6 separate regions of the Homo sapiens genome follow, and all the other regions are linked to region 5. The links are contacts of gene promoters, found by promoter capture Hi-C in blood cells and fetal thymus (Javierre and others, 2016). All regions are on one chromosome and are shown on one strand. The core of a region is centred on a gene start or on the middle of the fragment in contact, and the rest is flanking DNA. Distances in the headings are between cores, read along the strand shown.

Region 1 (3,037 bases), core at 423-2,922, 4.2 Mb before region 5:
CCAAAGTCCAGAGAAAAAAAGAGCTTACAACAAAATAAAACCAGAACACACAGAAACCAACTGTCTCTTACTTTGTATGGCCTTCAAACTGCCTGAGGGGAGCCCTCCCACTTATATCAAAAAGTTGAACTCCACCATCTTCACTGCCAGCCACAAGCAATCTACCATCTTGTCGAAAAGTAGCACAGTATGCTGTGTCTTTAAATCGAGAAAAGGTTTTTATAGGTTCTTGGGAGTATCGGCCATAAATGTGAATCTACAAGATGAAAAACAGTATTTCACCAGATGGCTCAAGATCAGTAGTAAACTATACAAAAGAAAAATAAAGAAATTTAATATTATACTTACTCTTGAGGAAGCTGTGACAGCATAATTATATGGAGGCTGAGGAGAAAAGTCTACTTTTGAAACTGCACCAAATTCCTTAATCTGAACAGGGGTCTTAATAAAAAATAATAGTGTGTTAACAGAGTTACCACTGGTAAGACCTATTTATGCATTACATAATTTCTTACAGACCGTTTCTCTTTGTTCTTAGTAACATTTCTTAAGTTGTATTTAACATAAAATTACAAAGAAAGCAAAAAAGGTACATATCTCATCACCCAGACTATTCTTGTTGCCACTGAAATAAACATATGGTTAGAAAGCCACACCCCACTCTGTCTCTTCAGCTATTGAGTTTACTGTGATTTCTACCAGAAAAAAAAAGTTATCATGTCTACACCAGCATACAATAACCACGTACTTGTACTTTTAAAATAACAAAAAGATAATCATACCATGTAGGCTGTTCCACATCTTGCTTCTTTTCACTTAGTAACACATATTAGCTTTCATAGGAGCAATAGACTTACCATCCATTATAAGGGCACACTGTAATTTACTATACCAGTCCACTACTAATAGACATGGGTTTTTCAAGATTTCTACTATTACAAGCAATACTTCAATAAACATCTTTACACATATGAGATTCAAATTTTAAAATTTAATTCATTTGGCATTGATTGATCATCTGTTCTGTGCTAGGCATTTGTATGGTTAATCTGATTAAGCAGTATGGACTTTTACATAAAATTCCAAGAAAAAATAGATATCAAATTATCTGCCCAAACTATAAGCTGCTGATAGATGGTTTTCAGTTAATAATTCTCTGTTAGAGCATCCAGAGTATAACATATGCTAGAGAAATTGGCATAAACACAAATCCCTTCTCCCTCATTACGTCCCACACTCACCTTATAGTTGTTCCAGTACAGTGTATCTTGGGTGATTTTTTCACCAAGTATAGGATATGTCTGAATAGCTACAGGCTTATAACCAGCCATAATTCCATATAATTGCACTATTGTCCAAGAGTCACTATTTTGGAATTGGTATTAGAAATAATTACAGTGACTCTGCCTTAATTCTGAAAAATAAAATATTTTATATACATATTATAAGCTTGTACACATAGTTGATTTTCACTCTGCTTTCTTTAAAAAGTCTGTGTGGAAGTATATAGATTAGAGACCAATAAGCCATTTAATTCTAACCCAGAAAAGGCAATCTATAGGAAGCAGGAATAATTAAAGTGAAGGCTATCATATCGCACCATCTATTCAGCTGTACACAAAGGTTCTCACACCTAGCCAACCATTTTACAACACTTAGGAATAAATCTAGCACAGCCTTACAGTAGCCAAACCAAAAAGGATCATGCTGGCTTTGAGTGTCCATTTTTTGGCAACAGGAAATATTAAGGTGAAACTGCAAATACAAGTTTCCTGAAACCAAGTTTAAGATGACATTTAATCTATAACAATTATAGTTACGGATTTGATTTCCTGAAAGCCTAAAAATGCCAAGAAGTAAGAAACACAAAGCTAATATTCTAATGTAGAAGCTTAAAATTAAATTTACTTTAAAAGGTTTAAACAGTAGGAAAGAAAACTGTAATAAAGCAGTCCTGAAATTAAATTCAACACTAAAGTGGCAGAATAGGATAAAACTTTTAAATAACATGCAATCAAGCCAAAACATTTTTCCAGAACGACTCAATTGCAAAAGAGATTCAATGTTATCAGGTAAATGATTCCAGAGGTGCTGCTCATCATCTATTCCAAAAAGCCTGAAAACTTTACATTAGTAACACCACGATAAATAGGTGTAACATATATTTAAAAGGTGCTTTAATGAAATACAATGACCAATGATTGTATTTCACTGGTCTTTGGGAACACTCTTCTGTTCATTAAAGTACCTACCAATGTGCAGGACACTGCTCTAGGCACTGGGGCTATAATGGTGAATGAAATAAAGACATGGTCTGTGCCTTTGCTTACTCCAATATACTCCATTTTGGCTGGTGACTGGCACCAGATATTAACCTAGACTCAGCCTTGACGTGTCCTTTTCTTCCTCACTCCTAACATCCAAATAGTTAACAAGATCTGCTGATTTTATCTCCCAAATATTTTAAAACTCCATTAGGTTCACTTCACCTGAGGGAGCCTCGTAAGCAAAGGCAAAGATGGAAATGTGTCCATTGCCTTGGAGAGTTGCTGATTACTCCGGGAACTAACAACGGTGGACAGGAAAGGGTGTAATCGCAGAGAAGAACCTAGGTCGAAGCTTAATTGAGGGGAACTTGAGCCGGTTAAAGAATTTGGCCACTCTCCTATATAGCCTGGGAAGCCCCAGAAGAGCATGCCAGATTAACACAGGAAGGCCGGGTGTGAGTGTGGGCTTCCCTCAATGGGAGCCGCCTTCACCTACCTCCACTGAGCCCCAAAGGGTCCGACGAGACACCTCGACCCAAGGACAATTAATCGGACTGTGCCAGCTCCCTACCCTGCACAGTTCAGCAGCACTGGCGTAAAAATCACATGGACCCTCAAGGAGCCGGCGACACACACAGCGAACCGAACGTCGCGCGAAGATGACGTACCAGAGCACGCTCATGAGACTCACGCAGCCCGGCGGCGCAGAGGCGGGTCAGGTGGGCGGGGCGATCTGGAGTAGGAGGTGTGACCGGAGGGCGAAATTGGGG
Region 2 (3,289 bases), core at 204-2,703, 3.8 Mb after region 5:
CCATGAATATGAAGTATCTTTCCATTTATTTAGGTCTGCCTTAGAACTTCTCTGTTAATAAGTTATTGATTAAGCAGTATAAAATGCAGAAGTTCCATATGAATAAAGATATTGAGGAGGGGTATTCTGATTTGCGTTTGATGTGGGGTAGACATCCTCATCATTCTTTATTGCACTGTCTACCTCCTTAAAATTGCCCAGTTTTGAATCTTATGCCACCAGACTCTAATCCTCTTCCATTCTTTGCAGGAATCATCTAGCAAGATTGTTTTACTCACCCTCATTCCTTGAAGATTTTTAGCTCCTGGCTCATTGCCCTTTGCAGTACTACTATCATAATTCTTAGTGATTTTAATATCCTTATAGATGATCCAATAACTTGGCCTCTCTTTTTCTTGACCTTCTTTCCCCTAGTGATTATGTTCTCTCTTGTCTTAGCTACTTATTCCTATGGCCATTCTTTCACTTTGTCCCTGTCTGTACCTGTGGTGCTACACCATAGAAGAAAACATACAACCATGCTCTGGTTTTACTTTAAACTCATGATACTAATCTCAGGTGAGCCTGTAATGCTACTACTGAATAATCCTGTAACTTTATCCTCTCCCATTTTTTTATATATCTGTTTTATACATCTCTTTTCCTGTGCTCTTAAACTCGCAGTACTTTCTTCCCATCCTTTCATAGCTGATAACCGTAGTTACCATTTTACGGAGAAAAGAGAAACAATCCACATAGAATTTCTACAAGTTCCTAGCAACACGTCTACTTACCTACCTGCATCTACACTCTTGATATTCTGATGACCCTCCCATTAAAATGGATGAACTGCATGTCCATTTATCTTAAGCCAACACCTCTACTTATGTACTAGATCCCATTCTTTCTTCTCCCCTTTCTCTCTTGTATTAGCAACATTTCCTTCTTTTACTGTACCGTATAAAGATGCTATATTTTCTCCCATCTTTAAAAAAGAAAAAGTCTCTTTTAACCCTATATCTCCCTCCAGCTACTAACTGTATTTCTCTCTTGTGCTTTAAAGAAAAAAAAATGTGTGTGTGTGTGTTTTCTTTTTGTTTGTTTTGTTTGTTTGTTTTTGGTATGGTCTTAACGGTCTTGCTTTGTCACCCAGGGTGGAGTGCAGTTGTGTGATTGTGGCTCACTGCAGCCTCAGTCTCCTGGGTTCACCGGGCTCAAGTGATCCTCTCACCTCAGCTCCTGAATACCTTGGAATACAGGCATGTGCTGCCATGCCTGGCTAGAGAAAACGTTCTTGAAAACGTTTCATATACTTAATATTTTTAATTCCTTGCCTTCCATTCTTTCTTGAATCCACTCCAATCAGATTTTTATTCTTGCCATTCTTCTAAAACTACTCCTATGAAGGTTATCTGTGGCCTTCATTTTTGTATGTTTACTCCAAGAAAATTGTTGTGATAAATTACCCCAGAATGTAGAGGTGTAAAACAACTATTTATTACGCTCATGAGTTTTGTGCATTAGAAATTCAGACAAGACACAGCAGGAGCAGCTTCTCTGTTCCACAGTATCTGGAGCCTTGGCTAGAAGATCAAAGCCTAGGGGCTTAATTGTCAGAAATGATCGTGTGTATGTCTGGGAGTTGATACCAGCGTTTGTCTGGGAACCTCAGTTCCTTTCCTCATGGACTTTATGTTGATCTCTTCCTTTTGTGCTACTTTGGGCTTTCGCATAACATGGTGCCTGGGTTGCAAGGGTGAGTGTTCCAAGACACAGAAAGCCAGAAGTTAGCTATATTGCCTTTTATGACTTAGTCTTGAAAGTCATGTGGTGTCATTTTCATTGTATTCTCTTTATAAAGACAGCCACAAAGTCACACTCAGTTTCAGGGGGAGAGGAAAAAGACTCTGTCTCTTGATGGGGAATGATGAAATATTGCTGTGAGTATTTTTAGAAAAAACAGTTTGCTCCTCTATATTACTAAATAAATTGTCAATTCTCTGTAATTTACTTGACCTGTCTCCAGTGTTTGACAGTTATCATTCCTTCCTTGAATACATTCTTGGATTTCAGGGTATCATGCTCTTGATTTTCCTCTTAACTTACTGAGTGCTCCTTCTCAGACTATTCAGTTGGTTCTTACCTCAATAGCTCCTGGCCTGAAGATCTTCTCATTTCTAGCTGCACACTCTTCCTTTTCTTATTTCACCTATCCTCACAACTGTAAGTACAGTCATGTGTCACTTAACAACGGGGATATGTGTTGAGAAATGCATTGTTAGATGATTTCATCATGTGAGCACAAACCTAGATGGTATAACCTACTACATACCTAGGCTGAATACCGTAGGTAATTGTAACAGAATGGTATTTTTGTATTTAAACATTTCTAAACATAGAAACGGTACAGTAAAAAAAATGGTATGAAAGACAAAAAGTGGAACACCTGTCTAGGGCTTTTACCATGAATGTAGCTTATAGGACTAGAAGTTGCTCTAGATGAGTCAGTGAGTTGTGAGAAGATATGAAGGCCTAGGACATTACTGTACCCTACTGTAGACTTTGTAAATACTGTACACTTAGGCTATACTAAATTTATTTTTTTAATTATTCAATAATAAATTAACCTTAGCTTGCTGTAAGTTTTTTGCTTTATCTTTTTAATTTTTTAACATATCAACTCTTTCATAAAAACAGCTTAAAACATAAACATGTTGTATAACTGTGCAACAATATTTTCTTTCTTTTTTTATTTTCTAATTTAGAGACAGAGTTTGTCTCTGTCACCCAGGCTGAAATGCAGTGGTGTGATCATAGCTTACTATAACCTTGAACTCCTGGACTCAAGCGATCTTCCTGCCCCTGCCTCCTGAGCAGCTTGGGCTACAGGACTGGGCCACCTCACCCAGCTAATTTTTAAAATTTTTTTATAGAGATAGGGGTCTTACTTTGTTGCCAGGCTGTTCTGGAACTCCTGAACTCAAGTGATCCTACGACCTTGGCCTCCCAAAGTGTTGTGATTACAGGTGTGAGTCACTGCACCTGGCATATTTTATGTCTTTTTTTCTAGCTAATTTATTTATTTTTATTTTTTACTTTTTTAATTTCTTTGTTAAGAACGAAGACACAAACACATTAGCCTAGGCCTAAGGCAAGGTCAGGATCATCAAGACATCAGTAGGCAATAGGAATTTTTCAGCTCCATTGGAACCACTGTTATATGTGCAGTCTGTGATTGACCAAAATGTCATTATGTAGTGTGTAAGTCTTATCTGTGTGATGATGGCTGTCAAATTCATATTGCTAGCTC
Region 3 (3,407 bases), core at 448-2,947, 3.7 Mb after region 5:
CCTCCTTGCAGTCTGGTTAGTTGATGTCTTTCCAGGTGGCAGTGAGAGGAGCAGGTGATGCACAGTTGGAGAACATTGCAATCAGTCCATTTAATATTAAGGTCTTTTTGTTCTCCTTGATGATTAGACTATGTGAAAATAAAGTTGATTGGTTATCTAAGGAGAATGTTAGTTATGATTGCTCTGTAGCAAACAGATAAATGCAGTCATTTAAGAAAAGATGTTTCTTTTCTAATCAAAAGCAGCATAAAAGTTTTAAGGGCCAGAAAGAAAATTGAGGGTTTTTTTTTCAAACCAAGATGTTATGTCCTATTTTTAGGATGGTATTCAGCCAAAAATATGTGCCTTCAGCTGTTTGTTATATATGGCAGTCAGAAAGGGTGCCAATTGTTTTTGACTGACCCCTATTTTTGACTCTGTGAGTCTAATTTAATTGAACATGAAATCATGTGGAGGTGTCTGCCCACCTTCTAGACATTTTTAAAAGCCCTAGGAAAGAAGCCTCAGTTCTAATACCAGCTTTACCACTACTGTGAAGCTGGTATATCATCAGCTTTGTCTTGCCATCAGATTATGTCACCCACTCCTCTTAATTATTGTCATCTACTGACATTTGCTTCATTCCTTGACTAATTGTGGTTCCTGCTCACTGTCACTCTCTCTAGCACTACTCCTATTTAGTTCTTGGCAATTGCAATATACTGATTGATGATTATTTTAGTTCCCTGGCTCTCAGTTATTGACCTCATCCAGTGATCTCAAACACTTGATCATATTCTAGATCAGTGGTTCTCAACTTGGGGGTGATTTTGCAATATCTGGATACATTCTGATTGTCACAACTGGGTGAGGCGGGTGGCTGGTATTATTGGCATCTAGTGAGTAGGTAGAGGCCATGGATGCTGCTAATGCACAGGACAGCCCCTGACAAGAAGAAATTACCTGATCCAAAATGTCAGTATGCGGAGATTGAGAAAGCCTTCCCTAGACTTAATCATTACCAGAATTGCATTCCTTCCCTAATCTCTATCCCAAACATTTCACTTCCTGACCACTATTGCCTGTCTTTCCAAGATTACTCCCTCTAGAATCCCTACTCCAGCTATTCTTTGACCCAACCAGTACCTCCAATCTGTTCATGCCTCACCTTTCCCCACACCTCTTCTTACTCATCTTAAATTCCATGGTTGATAATTATAATTATTCCCTTGTATCTCCTTCCCTTTCTTGCAAAGCCCAACTTTGTTTAAATCCAACTCTCCACCTACTTTGTGCCCAACTACTCACACCCACTCATGTAGCCGTAAATAAATGGAGCAAAACACACAACTTTGCTGACTAGTCCCACTTTAAATTCATGACTGTGAACTTCAAGTAGACCTTTAATGCTGTCAGGCAATCACAGTATCTGTTCTAAGTTCATTCATACATTTATTTTCCTAGATGACCATTTTAACACTTTCTCATATCTTCTCAAACCCTCAAACCTCCTTCACTGTCCTCACTTTTAGTTGGTTACCTTGCTTTCTACTCCACCAAGAAAGCTGAAATAATAAGAAAATAGCTGGATATGATGGCACCCACATACTCGGCCTGCCTGCCTGTTTGACTAGCTATTACCATAGATGGACTATTCATGTTCCTTTCTAAATGGAACCCCTCTACTGGTATACTAGATCCCATCCTGTCTCACCTACTCCAGGATATCACTTTAGTTATTTTATTTTTTTAATCTTACATCATAAAATTTTCATACCCTACTGGATCATTTCCATCATCATATAAACTTACCATTATTCTCCCTTCTTCAAAAAAGCAAAAACAAACAGCAAATAATTACTGCTTAATTGTATGTCTCCCTTTGCAGCAAAACCATTTGAAAGAATGGTCTATACTTGCTTTCTCCAACTCCTCTCCTTCTATTCTTCTTAAACCCATTCTGATTAAGCCTTTGCCTCAATCTCTCAATCTATACCACTCTCATCAAGGACATTAGTGATTTCTGTGTTGTTTAATTTAATGGTCAGTTCTCAGCTTTCATCTGAGTTATTAGCTGTCATTGATAATGTTGATGGTCATTTCCTCATGAAATGACCCCCACCACCCCCAGTATATTTTATTTAGTTTCCAGGATACCTCATACTTTCTTGGCTTTCTTATCTCATTGTTTGCTTCTTTTCTGTCCCCTTTTCTGGTTCCTCTTCTTTTCCCTGACCTGGTGTACCCAGGGTCCACTGCTTGATCCTCTTCTTTTCATTATCTATACCCATTTCTTTGGTGATATCATTCGGCTTCTTAGCCTTAAATACCCCTTATTTATATGCTATTTCCCAAATTTATGCCCTCAGCCCAGACCTTTCTTCTGAAGGTCTTATATATCCAAGTACCTACTAGATATCTCCACTTGCATGTCTAATAGGCATCCCAAATTTAACATGGCCAAAACCGAACTTCTGATTCCCCCACCCAAAATCTGTTCTGTATGCAATTTCCCAATCTCTGTTTATGTCAGCGTCATCTTTTCTGTTGCTCAGGCCAGAAACTTGGGTATCATTCTGGACTCTTCTCTTTCTCAAATACCCTGTAACTAATCATTCAATAAATCCTGTTGGCTACACTTTCAAAATATGTCTAGATTTGACATCTCTTATACCACCTCTGGACTGAACTATTTCTTGACTGTTTTAGTGTGATAGCCTCTAACTGGTCTCTCTGCTTCTATTCTTGCCCCTCCATTGGCTGTTCCAAACACAGGCACCAGTGATCTTTACAAACAGAGTATGTGAGTTTCTATCATTTATCTACTCAAAACATTGTTTAAAGGATCTATATAATTTGACTTCTGTGACATATTGTTCACCTACTCCTCCCCTTTCTCATTTGGCTTCAGCCATTATTAGCTTTCTCTTTATAAATGTACCATATCCTCTTGCCTAAGGGCTTTTGCTCTGGCTGGTTCCTCTGCCTGGAATGGTCTTCACAGATAATGCTAACACCCCCGTCTCCTTTAAGTCTTTGTCAAATCTCTTTTCTCAGTAAGGCCTACCCTGAACTCTCTGTTAAACCTGCAGCTGTGGGCCGGGTGCGGTGGCTCACACCTGTAATCCCAGTACTTCGGGAGGCCGAGGCGGGCGGATCACTTGAGGTCGGGAATTTGAGACCAGCCTGGCCAACATGGTGAAACTCCCTCTCTACTAAAAATACAAAAATTAGCCAGGCGTGGTGGCACACGTCTGTAATCCCAGCTACTCAGGAGGCTGAGGCAGGAGAATAGCTTAAACTCGGGAGGCACAGGTTACAGTGAGCCAAGATTACGCCACTGCACTCCAGCCTGGGCAATAGAGCGAGACTCCGTCTCAAAAACAACAACAACAACAACAAAAACCCTGCAGCTGCTTTTCTGCTCA
Region 4 (3,543 bases), core at 693-3,192, 3.4 Mb before region 5:
CATTTATTTCATTACCTATGTCACTTGGTTTGACGTCACTTTATAACCAGGTTTCTTTTCTTAAAAAAACATTTGCAGAATCCAACATGGTTAAAATTCAAGAAATTCTTCTAAATACAGATGTTTACATTTCAATGTAGTAGCTCATTTACAACATTTAGAAAAACTGAGTTCATGGAATGGCTTTAAAATTATAAATAAGCAAAACTACAGTCATAAAAACAATGAATACAATAAGAAATGTTGATATTGGAAAAGCTTACAACTAGAATCATGTATTTTTACAAAAATCTTATTCTGCTCACATTATATAATGGTAATAAAGCCACTGAGAGTTGAGGTAGAAGTGCAAACAAGATTTTTATAGATATTTCAGTGGGAGGAATTTAATAATTCCTGACTAGGAGAAAGATGCAGCCACATCAAGGGTGGCGGCCCCTTTTAGGAAAAAGAAAACAGAACACTAGTACTTCATTAGGCTCACGTTAAATTGCATGAAGTAAAAATCGTACTGCCAAGCTAGTATAAATTTATGCACTGCATAGCTAGAGACTAAAAAAGATATCTGCACCTACAAACTATTGTTTCCCTTTTGTGGTTGCTAATTTTCATCCTGGCACAGCCTTCTCTAGGAACAACTACGGTGCCAGGTAAGGTGAAAGTGGAAAACAGATCCTTTCCCAAAAAACGGAACTTTCCCCTTTTCCACTAAACATAGCTTCTTCACCACTCTAACATGAAAGCTTTGATATAACAGGGAAACTTAAAAAGCTGCAGGAACTTTTGTTATTCTAAAAGTGAGTAGTACGTCAGGACAGCCATTTTACAACCTTCATTTCCAAACACCTATTACACCATACATCTTGCAATTTTAAAAGTATCTTTTCTTTAGGGTAAAAAAAGTACCACTTACACATTCATCATTTAAGTCATTACTGTTTCAAAGGACAGTTATTAAGCTTCTTAATACAGCTGTCAAAATCAATTTGTAGATAGCCTCCAATTTCAAATTTCTACATTTACATCTACTGATAGACCATCCTGATTAGCGATTAAGATAACAGACTTAAACTCTAAGCAATCCTTGCAAAATCCAGTTGATTTTTAAAATCAGTAAGCAACACGCGATCATTTTTAAAGAAAGTCATTCCGAAAATAGCTTGATTGTGGTGGCCAATCTGCTCCTCAGCAGCTGTTCCCTGTTGCTTGTACGCATGGGAGTGGAGGTAGAAGGGCAAAACCCACAAGCCCACGCAAAACTCGTACAGTCACAAACATTATGTAAACATGTCGTGAGGCCAAGAGGCCCCAAGGAGAAAGAACCGCCGGGAGGAAGAGAACGGCAAGCTGCATGTAAGGACGATGGGCGCTGTGTGCGGACGCAGGAGACCCGGGCAGAGGGGCCCAGGGCGGGACAAAGACTGGCCCATCTCGGGCAGCGCCGGCCAGCGCCCAGAACCAGTGAAAGGCAGCCGTCCCGGGGCAGCCGACTGCAGCACTCAAGGGCCCTCAAACGCCACAGCTTAACAGGCGAGGCAAACGCTCCCCTGAATGTAAGACCCTTCCCTTCCCGCCCCTTGTAACGGGCTCCTGCCGCCCCTAACGGGATCCTCGGACGCTTGAGGAGCCGCCGTCGCCTGCTCCCTACCCGGGTCCCGCAGGGCGCCTGGGCGGGCAGCTGTTGGGGTTAGAACCGCGCCGCCGCTGCCTCTCGGCTTCAAACGGCCGGGCAGGCGCCGAGAGAGCGGGCGAGCCCGGCGTCTCTCCCGTAGGCGCGTCAGGCAGCTCGGCGCTCCCAGCCTCCGTTCCCGCCCCTGCAGTTCGGGGCCGCGCACCCTCACGCCACCTACCCGGTCCCACACCATCCCAGACGCCTCGGGCGCTCGGGCCTTCGGCCGAAGCGGCACTGCCTCCTGTCCGGGGCCTGAAATGGCTGCGGAACAAAGAGAATCTGGGCTTCACCGAGCGCCGGTCCGATTGGCCGGGGGGCGGAGCCCGCGGCGGGAACATTCGGCGGCGGTCGCCTTGGCAACGGCGGCGGGGCTAGGAAAATTGCTGCCTGGGTCGGCTGGGCCTGTGGGCCTGCGTCCGACAGCGCGCGGCCGTGCTTTCTAAGCGGGCTCGGCAGCACCAGACTTCACCGGCCCGGCGCGGGGCTCACAAGTGCTCGCACTCCCTGCGGCCGGCGCGCTGACCGGAGCCTCTGGGTCTCGCACGCAGCAGCTGCAGACGCTGCCCGGCGCGGTGGGGCTGTGAGCAAAACGGCCCGCCGGTGTGGTTGCCCAGACTGTGCTGGGCCCTCCTAGGTGGATGGCCCTGCCCCAGCCTAACTTCTGTACCCCAGCATAACCTCCAAAGTAACAGCCGTGCCCTGGGAGCCTGTTCAACACTGAACATATCCCACAATAACACTGTTCCAGCGTCGCTGGTAAAAAGCAGAAATGGCTTCGGTAGGTAGACGCCGGTGGATGGCTGCCCGCTTAGAACAAGATAGGCTTTTGACGTATGTTGTATCTGGCGTATAAACTACTATGTAATTAGAATTCAGTGATTTATAAAATGTTTACGCCTCCAGGTGTTCAATCCTATAAAACTGTAGTTTCTTGCTCTTAGAAATAACAAGCCTTTCTCTCCCTAACCTGCCATCATGAGAAATTAAAATGTCCTGTATTTTCTGTACGGCAAATGATTCAAAATGGGAGTGGTGGACGTTTTTATACCCAACTGCAACAAGGGTAATGAGATAAATATCAGTTTCCTTCCCTCAGATTATTCTTATATGTAAAATTTACTGTATAAAAATACTTAAAATTTGCATAGCTAGCTGATTTTTATTTTCTAAGGTGATGATGCCCGTGATAATATTCCTCACATGATCAGTGTGAGTAGAAATACCAGCAGTTCCGACTATCTTACTGGAAGTGCTGTATATATTTTGAAAATGTGTGACAGTTGTTGCCTTCCTGTCATAGTTTAGGTAAAATTACAGTACATAATACTAGAAAATGTCTAAATTTTTACTAAGGTAATTTATTTGTTCTTCTAAACGTGTTAACAATTTTCATTTGAATTACAGTCATTTTGCAGGAACAACTAGTTTATTTAACTTAAAATTTGAGACTAAAAGTACCATTTTTTAATCATTGGGAAATTGAACTTAGCAAGGGAAAATATAGATAACTAAAATATTCATGATTTCAACATGTTATAATATTAATTTGATAGTAATTGGATACAGTAGTGTATATCAAAAAGAGCCCCCCCCCCCAAATAGGAGTAGATTACCAAGAAAAAAATGTAATATAAACTTTTCTGAATGGTAGTTTATCTGCAGGAAAATATACCCAGAAAAAGTATATTTATCCAAATAACAAATGGCTTATTTCTGCATTTGAAAAGTTACATCGTGGACTAGGATCTATACAAATCAGAAGATGTGTAGTATTTGCATTCTACTTTGCTAAAGGAAAAAACACAAATATTTCTAAAATCCAAAAGATTAGCAAATAATGACAGATGTAAATACTACTGACTAAGCAATTA
Region 5 (3,425 bases), core at 1-2,500:
TGTTCAGCCCTCCGCCCCAAATCGTTCACGATTAGAGACTGTGACGTTTCAAAAGGTATACAGGTGGAAAAAAAACACCTATTTGAGTAAATATAGTTTGTAGCTCGAAATAAAAGATGCAGACCAGGGGCCGGACGCGGTGGCTCATGCCTGTAATCCCAGCACCGTGGGAGGACGAGGCGGGCGGATCATCTGAGGTCAGGAGTTTGAGACCAGCCTGGCCAAAACATGGTGAAACCCCGTCTCTATTAAAAATGCAAAAATTAGCCGGGCGTGGTGGTGGGCGCCTGTAATCCCAGCTACTCTGGAGGCTAAGGCAGGAGAATCACTTGAACCCAGGAGGCGGAGGTTGCACTCCAGCCTGGGCGACAAGAGTGAGACTCCGTCTCAAAACAAAACAAAAACAAACAAACAAACAAAAAAAGGTGCAGACTGTTGTCACGGTCAGGTCTCTATTCACTCTTGAAAACAAGATTGACAATTACCTCCTTTAAAAAGCAGATAACTGTCCCTGAAGATGCGAGGTTACTGAAATGAGATGTCAGAGGTAGACCTTCAAGACTATTCCTAGCCGACCCACCACCACCCCACACAGTGAACAGGGAATACTAAGCTCAAATATTCGTCCAACGTAATCCTGTAATCAGTGGGGTGCCGGGTTGAGCTCGCAAATCCCCGCTGCAGGACAGGGCTCTGCACCCTCAATCTTCTCATCCCCAGATGGGATGGGCGGGTCGGGAGGAGGAGCGACGAGAGCCCAGGAAAGCTTGAAGGCAGAGATAGACTCACGTCTCTAAGACATATACATAATATAGCCGCAACCGCGGCGGCCTTACTTTCCCGGAGCTGCATCCCCTTTTAGGCGAAGAGCGGAGGCGACCAGGGACTACCCTAGGTGAAAGGGCAGCCACCTGGCCCTACCCGGGCTCAACGCCGAGCCTCTCGGAGGTACGGCCTCCCGGGGACCTTCCAGACTGGTCGGCGCAAGCGAAGGGCGGGGACCACCGAAGGAGTGTGTGACTTAGGCATCCAGCGCACTGCCTGACCCGAAGTACCGACCCGAGTTATGCCCACCCTCCAACTTTGCGACGGAAATGTGTCATCGAAAGCCAGGTAACCAGTGGGCCGCGGCTGGGCCGCCGGGGCAGGCTAGGGGCGCCGCGGTGGGCTTCGGGGCCTTTGGGGCCGTGGGCTTTTGCTGCCGCCCGCCCCTTCCGGCTCCTCCCTGTAGAGCAAAGGGCACGTGAGCGAGGCGCCCGAAGCCGTCGCGGCGGGGACCATGTTGCTTCCGAACATCCTGCTCACCGGTCAGGGCGCGCGGCCGGGAGGGACTGGGCTGGGGCAGGCTGGGGGCGCAGAGTGCTCTGGGCATCGGGCGCCCAGGTGGGGGCCCCTCACTGCCCTCTTCAGAGGCCGGCCGAGGGCCACGAGGCGGTTGTCAGCGCCCCGGGAGCCGACCCTCGCGGGCGTTGCGGGAGGCGAGGGAGGGGACGCGGAACGTTAATTCCGTTGGCCTGAGGCTCCGGGGGGGGGCGGGGGGGGGTGGAGAGAGGTCGGCAGATCCAGCTCTCCAGCTTGGCAACCTGCTTAGTCTTTCTGAATCTGGTATTTCGTTTGTAAAATGGGTTGTTGATTCTTTGGCAGGGTTGGCCTTGGGATTTTTAGCGAAATAACGTAAGGCCATATCTGCTTCCCGGTAGAGTCATTAATGGTGGATGCCTCACTCCTTAGGCCTCCGTGGGCCGTATTTTATTTTTTCTTTGCTTCTGATAAACGCCTCAGATTAGATTTCGGTAAACGAGTTCAGATGTTTGTGACGTGACGAAATTGCTGTATGCTTTTGTTGAGTTACATCAAAGGATCCCCCCGCCCCTTAAAAGGAAGGCATATAGAGCATTTCGGGTCGTTTCTCGCGTAGGAGTGGGTCTTTGAAGCCATACTCAGGGTGCATGTTATCAGTGAAGGGAATTAAAATGCTGCATAACGACTTTAACGAATATTTTTGCTAGCCGTTTAGTCCTGAAAGTGTTTATCAAATTGTAGGCCATTCGTGGAAAAATCTAATGCATGTAGATTTTATTGCAAGGTACAGAAAAATTAAGACTCTTTGTGGGAACAGTAAAGTTACATCATTCACCCAAAGGTAAAATTGTTGGCAGCGCACAAGACATGTCTGTTTCTGAGAGGTGCAGATTAACCACCCCACAAATAACGTTTAGAATTTTAGATTCCTTAAGCGGAAGATTTTACATCTTTTTGCATGGATCAAACATAGTGCCCTGGTTATTAAGTCATTGTCAAAACTTTAAAGTGAACATTTTATTGAAAACATGTTGAGTCCAGGGTTCAGACTTGGTGTATTATAGTGGACTTGAGGTGACCGTTATTCTCCTGGGTATGGGAACTGGATTATCCCTGTTATCTTTATGCTTAAGTTTAATTTCAGGGATGTTAAATCTGAATAGCTGAAAATTATGAATTTGATGATCTTGAAATGTAATTTTAATAGGTATCAGAAGGGGAAGGTAAAGAACAATGTATATAGTATTGTCATTTATGTAAAAGGGAATATGTGTTGTATTTATATAACAAAGAGTATGTACATATATGTACATTTACATGCAAACATAAATAGGGTTTCTTTGGGAAAGGAAACTGGTTTACAGTGGTTATCTCTAGGGAAGGGCGCAAGGGGTCAGTAGAGGTAATTTTCAGACTGCTTAATTTTAACATGAACAGTTTTGTTTTTGTTCTTGTTTTTGTTTTTGTTTGAGACAGAGTCTCATTATGTTGGCCAGGCTGGTCTCGAACTCCTGCGCTTAAGCGATCCTCCCGCCTTCTCCTCCCAAATTGCTGGGATTACACGCGCGAGCCACCACACGTGGCCATGAACAGTTTTTAAATCTTTATAAGTTAAAGCAAATAGGCCAGGTGGGTGGCTCATGCCTGTAAATCCCAGCACTTTGGGAGGTGGAGGTGGGGAGATCGCTTGAGCTCAGGAGTTTGAGCTTAGCCTAAGCAACATAGCCAAACCCCGTCTCTACAAAAATTAACCAGGGCATGGTGGTGCATACCTGTGGTCCTAGCTACCGGACAGGCTGAGATGGGAGGATTGCTTGAGCCCAGGAGGTAAAGGCTCTAGTGAGCCAAGTTCCACTGCACTCCAGCCTAGGTAACAAAGAGATATCTTGTCTTTAAAAAAAGAAAAAGGTAAATAAATTATTGTAATTGATTCGAGGTGGCTAATTTTTTTTTTTTTTTTTTTGAGATGGAGTCTCTGTCGCCAGGCTGGAGTGCTGTGGCGCGATCTTGGCTCACTGCATCCTACAACTACCTGGTTCAAGGGATTCTCCTGCCTCAGCCTCCTGAGTAGCTGGGATTACAGGCACGCGCCACCACGCCCGGCTAATTTTTGTATTTTAATA
Region 6 (3,168 bases), core at 19-2,518, 3.2 Mb after region 5:
ATAGTTATGCAACAGCACTGTTATAACCTGAGATAGAAAACTAAAGAAAAATAGGTCTAAATGCATCACTAGGAAATAAATCAAAATTTTTTTAAAGAAATAAATCTTGGGTAACAATTACCCCTTCCCTCAAAGGATTTTGATATAATGAACAAAAAACGGAGGATCTTAATACTGTAAGATCTACCATTAAAAAAGAAAAAAAGTTTGTGTGCAAGAATGTGAACAACCTACAAACCCCTTGCGAGTTTTCTAAATAATATCGTACGAGGGAAATTTTACCATTCCAAAATACACTATCTGGGAAGTGGCCGCGAGCTGTGAATGCCAGCCAAGATCTGGACTTTAAATGTATACGGGAGGGATAACCCTGCACCGACTTACACTTTTTCTGAAAGCTTTGGGACAGTGTGACCTTTCAGGAGGAAAATTTAATCTGCTGTCAAAAGGGCTAACAGACATGATCTTTGGGAACATGGATGCGCTCGGTTAGATAAACCAAAATGCTAAGTTTGTGCGACCGTCCTGGGAAACAAACACAGCCCCAGTTCCATCTTGTCACCAGCAGCAGGCTTTCTCGTCAGCAAAACGGCCTGACACCAAGGCCTTAAAAACTGGACTGTGGCTCAGGCGCGGTCTCCGCGATTTTCAGAGTGGAAAAACGCTCTGAGACGTTTGCCATGAGGGCTGTTCCGGGCCCACCTGCGGCCATCTTAAGTTCGGGGGGAAATAAGAGGGTGGGGGCACGGAATTCGAAGACCCAGCAGCGAACACAAGTCCCGGAGGCACAGAAAGGGCAACCATTCTAAATCCTTGGTAAGGGCTCCGTGCAGTAGTTAACCCCCCAAATCCGACTAAGGAGAGCAGGACGGCGGAACCCGGGTGCCCTAATCAAATATGGGCACCAAGGTAAGCCGGCGCGATCACGTGACATGCACCGCGCGCCCGCGTCCGCGCTCTCCTCCACGCCTCGGCTCCCGAGGTCTCTATGGCGCCCGCGCCCCTCCCCCAGCCGAGCTCCAGCACTTACTCCGGGGGGTAGAGCCGCAGCTCCTCGATTTCTCCTAGGAAGGAAAAAAGCGTCCGCATCTGCTCGCTGGTCACCGCCGACGACAGATTCGTCACCTGAATCACCGACGTGGGGGTGAGGCCGAAGCCTAAGCCCAAACCGAAGCCGCCGCCGCTGTTCATCCCGATCCCGCTGCCGTTGCCTTCCCGCTCCCCAACGTCTACGACGCGTCAGCGACGGAGCCGGGAAAGCGGAGAACGCGCGGCCGCGAGCGCGCTCCCGCTGGCGAATTCACAGCGCCGGGCAGATCTAGCCGCCCATTTCACAACTCCCCTGCTCCCGGGGCTGCGCGCGCCAGCCGGAAGCGTCGCCCCGGCAACCCGGCGGTTCTCGCGCGGCTGCGGCCTCCAGCTCCCGGGTCCCTGGGGCTGTTGCTGCTCGTTTCACCGCCTGGATTTTTATCGGTGTTTTTGTTTTCCCCAAAAGTCGATGAGAGTCTTGTGCTCATGTCTACCCGGTTCCTTCCGGTCTCGGATTGGGAAACCAAGCGGCCTGGCCTACTGGTGCGGGACTGTAAAGAAGGAATGACTCTTGGACAACACGGAAGAACACTTGACCAAACTATAGGGCAGCCTTATCACATACAGGCAGCACCCCAACTCCAACTATTTTTAAAAGTTGGCAGGCGTCCTAATTGTGAAAAAAACAAAATTTTACAAAATGCGTAGGTTCAGGTTGAATTAAGGAAAGAGGCAGTAAGATGAAGGCTGTGCAGGGGTTGTTTATAACCTGTTTTTAATTCCCTCGTTCCACAGGTGTTGATGTTTATTGAGTGCTATGTCCCAGGCACTATTAGGCAAGGGCACGTAACAGACAGTTAAAGACAGTTCACATAGAACTTGCAACCTAATGAGAGACAACAGTAGTGAGTCCATGGCAGCTGCTCCCAAAATGCCCTCCGCAGATCCCTAAGGGTACCGAGACCTTTTCAGTAAGTTGGCAAGGTCAAAACGATTTTCGTAATAATATTAAGAGTTTCTTGACCTTTTTCACTTTGTTGCCATTTGCACTGGTAACGTAAAAGATTAAACTGCTGACACCTTAGCAGCAATCAAGGCAGTGGCGCCAGTCTTGTACTGGTAGTTGCATTTTGTATTCTTCACATCATACAACATTTAAGGTTTTAAAGTATGCTAGTTTCACTTTAAAAATGTCCTTCACAAATAACTAAAAATTGTATTTTTTTTTCAAATCCATCCTTGCTTACACGTCTTTTAAAGAATATGTGTGAAAAAATGGAAACTACTGCCGCTACATGCCCAAGTGAAATGGTTGTCTCCGGAAAAAGCACTAGTGTAATTCTTTGAATTTTCACCTAAAAATACAAATTTTATTACACTTGTATCCACCAGCTTGAGCTTGACAGCTTGCCAGTACTTAAAGACTTTTCTAGTAAAAGAAGCATTATATTAACAATTTATTTTTGACTATATAATGAAATATGTCAACATTTTTGTGATCTTTACAACTTAGTGGACACCTATTTTTCAAATGGCCAGTGGGTGCCATTACAAAGGCAAAAAGCCTCTGGTATGTGCAAGATAGATTGATGGATTTCAGTGCTTAATTGATGTGGTTTCAGATTCAGTCCACACTGCAATGAAGGCTAAGAAACTACCACATGTAAGTTTGGTACCGTATCAAAGAATAATATCTAGAACTATCTGGAAAGGCTATAAAGTAGTTTTCCCTTTTCCAACACCTTATCTTTATGAGATCAGATTTCCCTCATATATTTCAACCAAAACATATCACAACAGATCGAATACACAGAAAACTCATGATCACAAAGAAGGAAACGTCAGTCACTGTGGTCTACTTGAGGGTGGAGGGTGGAAGGAGGGAGAGGAGCAGAAAAAATTATTGAGCACTGGGCTTAATACCTGGATGATGAAATAATCTGTACAACAAACCCCCATGACATGAATTTATCTATGTAACAAACCTTCACATGTACCCCTGGACCTACAATAAAAGTTGGAAAAAAATAAAGAATACATAGATAGGAGAATTCAGCTGTCTTCTATTAAAGCAGACATTAAAAAGGTTTGAAAAATGTAAAACAATGCCACTCTTCTCACCAATTTTTTGGAAAAATA

The links. Contacts are between HindIII fragments. The CHiCAGO score rates a contact against its expected background, and 5 or more counts as called.
Region 1: a contact is called between a fragment that was not itself captured here and the fragment with the promoter of TAF9 in region 5, in 3 of 17 cell types (total B cells, total CD4 T cells and non-activated CD4 T cells). The highest score is 7.5, in total B cells.
Region 2: a fragment that was not itself captured here is called in contact with the fragment with the promoter of TAF9 in region 5 in 1 of 17 cell types (fetal thymus); the score reaches 7.9 in fetal thymus.
Region 3: a contact is called between a fragment that was not itself captured here and the fragment with the promoter of TAF9 in region 5, in 1 of 17 cell types (neutrophils). The highest score is 6.4, in neutrophils.
Region 4: a contact is called between the fragment with the promoter of TNPO1 here and the fragment with the promoter of TAF9 in region 5, in 1 of 17 cell types (total B cells). The highest score is 5.6, in total B cells.
Region 6: a contact is called between the fragment with the promoter of SREK1 here and the fragment with the promoter of TAF9 in region 5, in 2 of 17 cell types (fetal thymus and total B cells). The highest score is 6.9, in fetal thymus.

What each region holds. Positions count from the first base shown.
Region 1 is chr5:73,565,639-73,568,675 of GRCh38, reverse strand. UTP15 (UTP15 small subunit processome component) reads right to left here and starts at 2,933. Exons shown (of 13, transcript NM_032175.4): 1 at 2,764-2,933; 2 at 1,242-1,414; 3 at 349-441; 4 at 72-256. The coding sequence starts at 1,331. It overlaps ANKRA2 (ankyrin repeat family A member 2), which reads left to right and starts at 3,037. Exons shown (of 9, transcript NM_023039.5): 1 at 3,037. RefSeq lists enhancers at 2,668-3,037, 2,794-3,037. The HindIII fragment of the contact is 442 bases long and covers 1,452-1,893 here.
Region 2 is chr5:65,555,929-65,559,217 of GRCh38, reverse strand. The region is part of intron 2 of CENPK (centromere protein K); the gene reads left to right. Among named protein-coding and RNA genes, the nearest start is that of CENPK, 5.6 kb to the left of the region's middle. The HindIII fragment of the contact is 8,637 bases long and covers 1-3,289 here.
Region 3 is chr5:65,715,739-65,719,145 of GRCh38, reverse strand. The region is part of intron 2 of SGTB (small glutamine rich tetratricopeptide repeat co-chaperone beta); the gene reads left to right. Among named protein-coding and RNA genes, the nearest start is that of SGTB, 4.7 kb to the left of the region's middle. The HindIII fragment of the contact is 6,188 bases long and covers 1-3,407 here.
Region 4 is chr5:72,815,060-72,818,602 of GRCh38, reverse strand. It overlaps TNPO1 (transportin 1), which reads right to left and starts at 1,942. Exons shown (of 25, transcript NM_002270.4): 1 at 1,851-1,942. The coding sequence starts at 1,865. It overlaps TNPO1-DT (TNPO1 divergent transcript), which reads left to right and starts at 2,055. Exons shown (of 9, transcript NR_186518.1): 1 at 2,055-2,450. RefSeq lists enhancers at 1,166-1,215, 2,296-2,375 and silencers at 1,676-1,895, 1,936-2,035. The HindIII fragment of the contact is 3,194 bases long and covers 962-3,543 here.
Region 5 is chr5:69,367,345-69,370,769 of GRCh38, reverse strand. It overlaps TAF9 (TATA-box binding protein associated factor 9), which reads left to right and starts at 1,250. Exons shown (of 3, transcript NM_003187.5): 1 at 1,250-1,307. AK6 (adenylate kinase 6) reads left to right here and starts at 1,250. Exons shown (of 5, transcript NM_016283.5): 1 at 1,250-1,307. The coding sequence starts at 1,280. RAD17 (RAD17 checkpoint clamp loader component) reads right to left here and starts at 952. Exons shown (of 19, transcript NM_133338.3): 1 at 837-952. RefSeq lists an enhancer at 149-698. The HindIII fragment of the contact is 4,867 bases long and covers 769-3,425 here.
Region 6 is chr5:66,142,400-66,145,567 of GRCh38, reverse strand. It overlaps SREK1 (splicing regulatory glutamic acid and lysine rich protein 1), which reads right to left and starts at 1,268. Exons shown (of 12, transcript NM_001077199.3): 1 at 1,031-1,268. The coding sequence starts at 1,191. RefSeq lists enhancers at 528-577, 638-697, 958-1,237 and a silencer at 1,418-1,487. The HindIII fragment of the contact is 9,482 bases long and covers 401-3,168 here.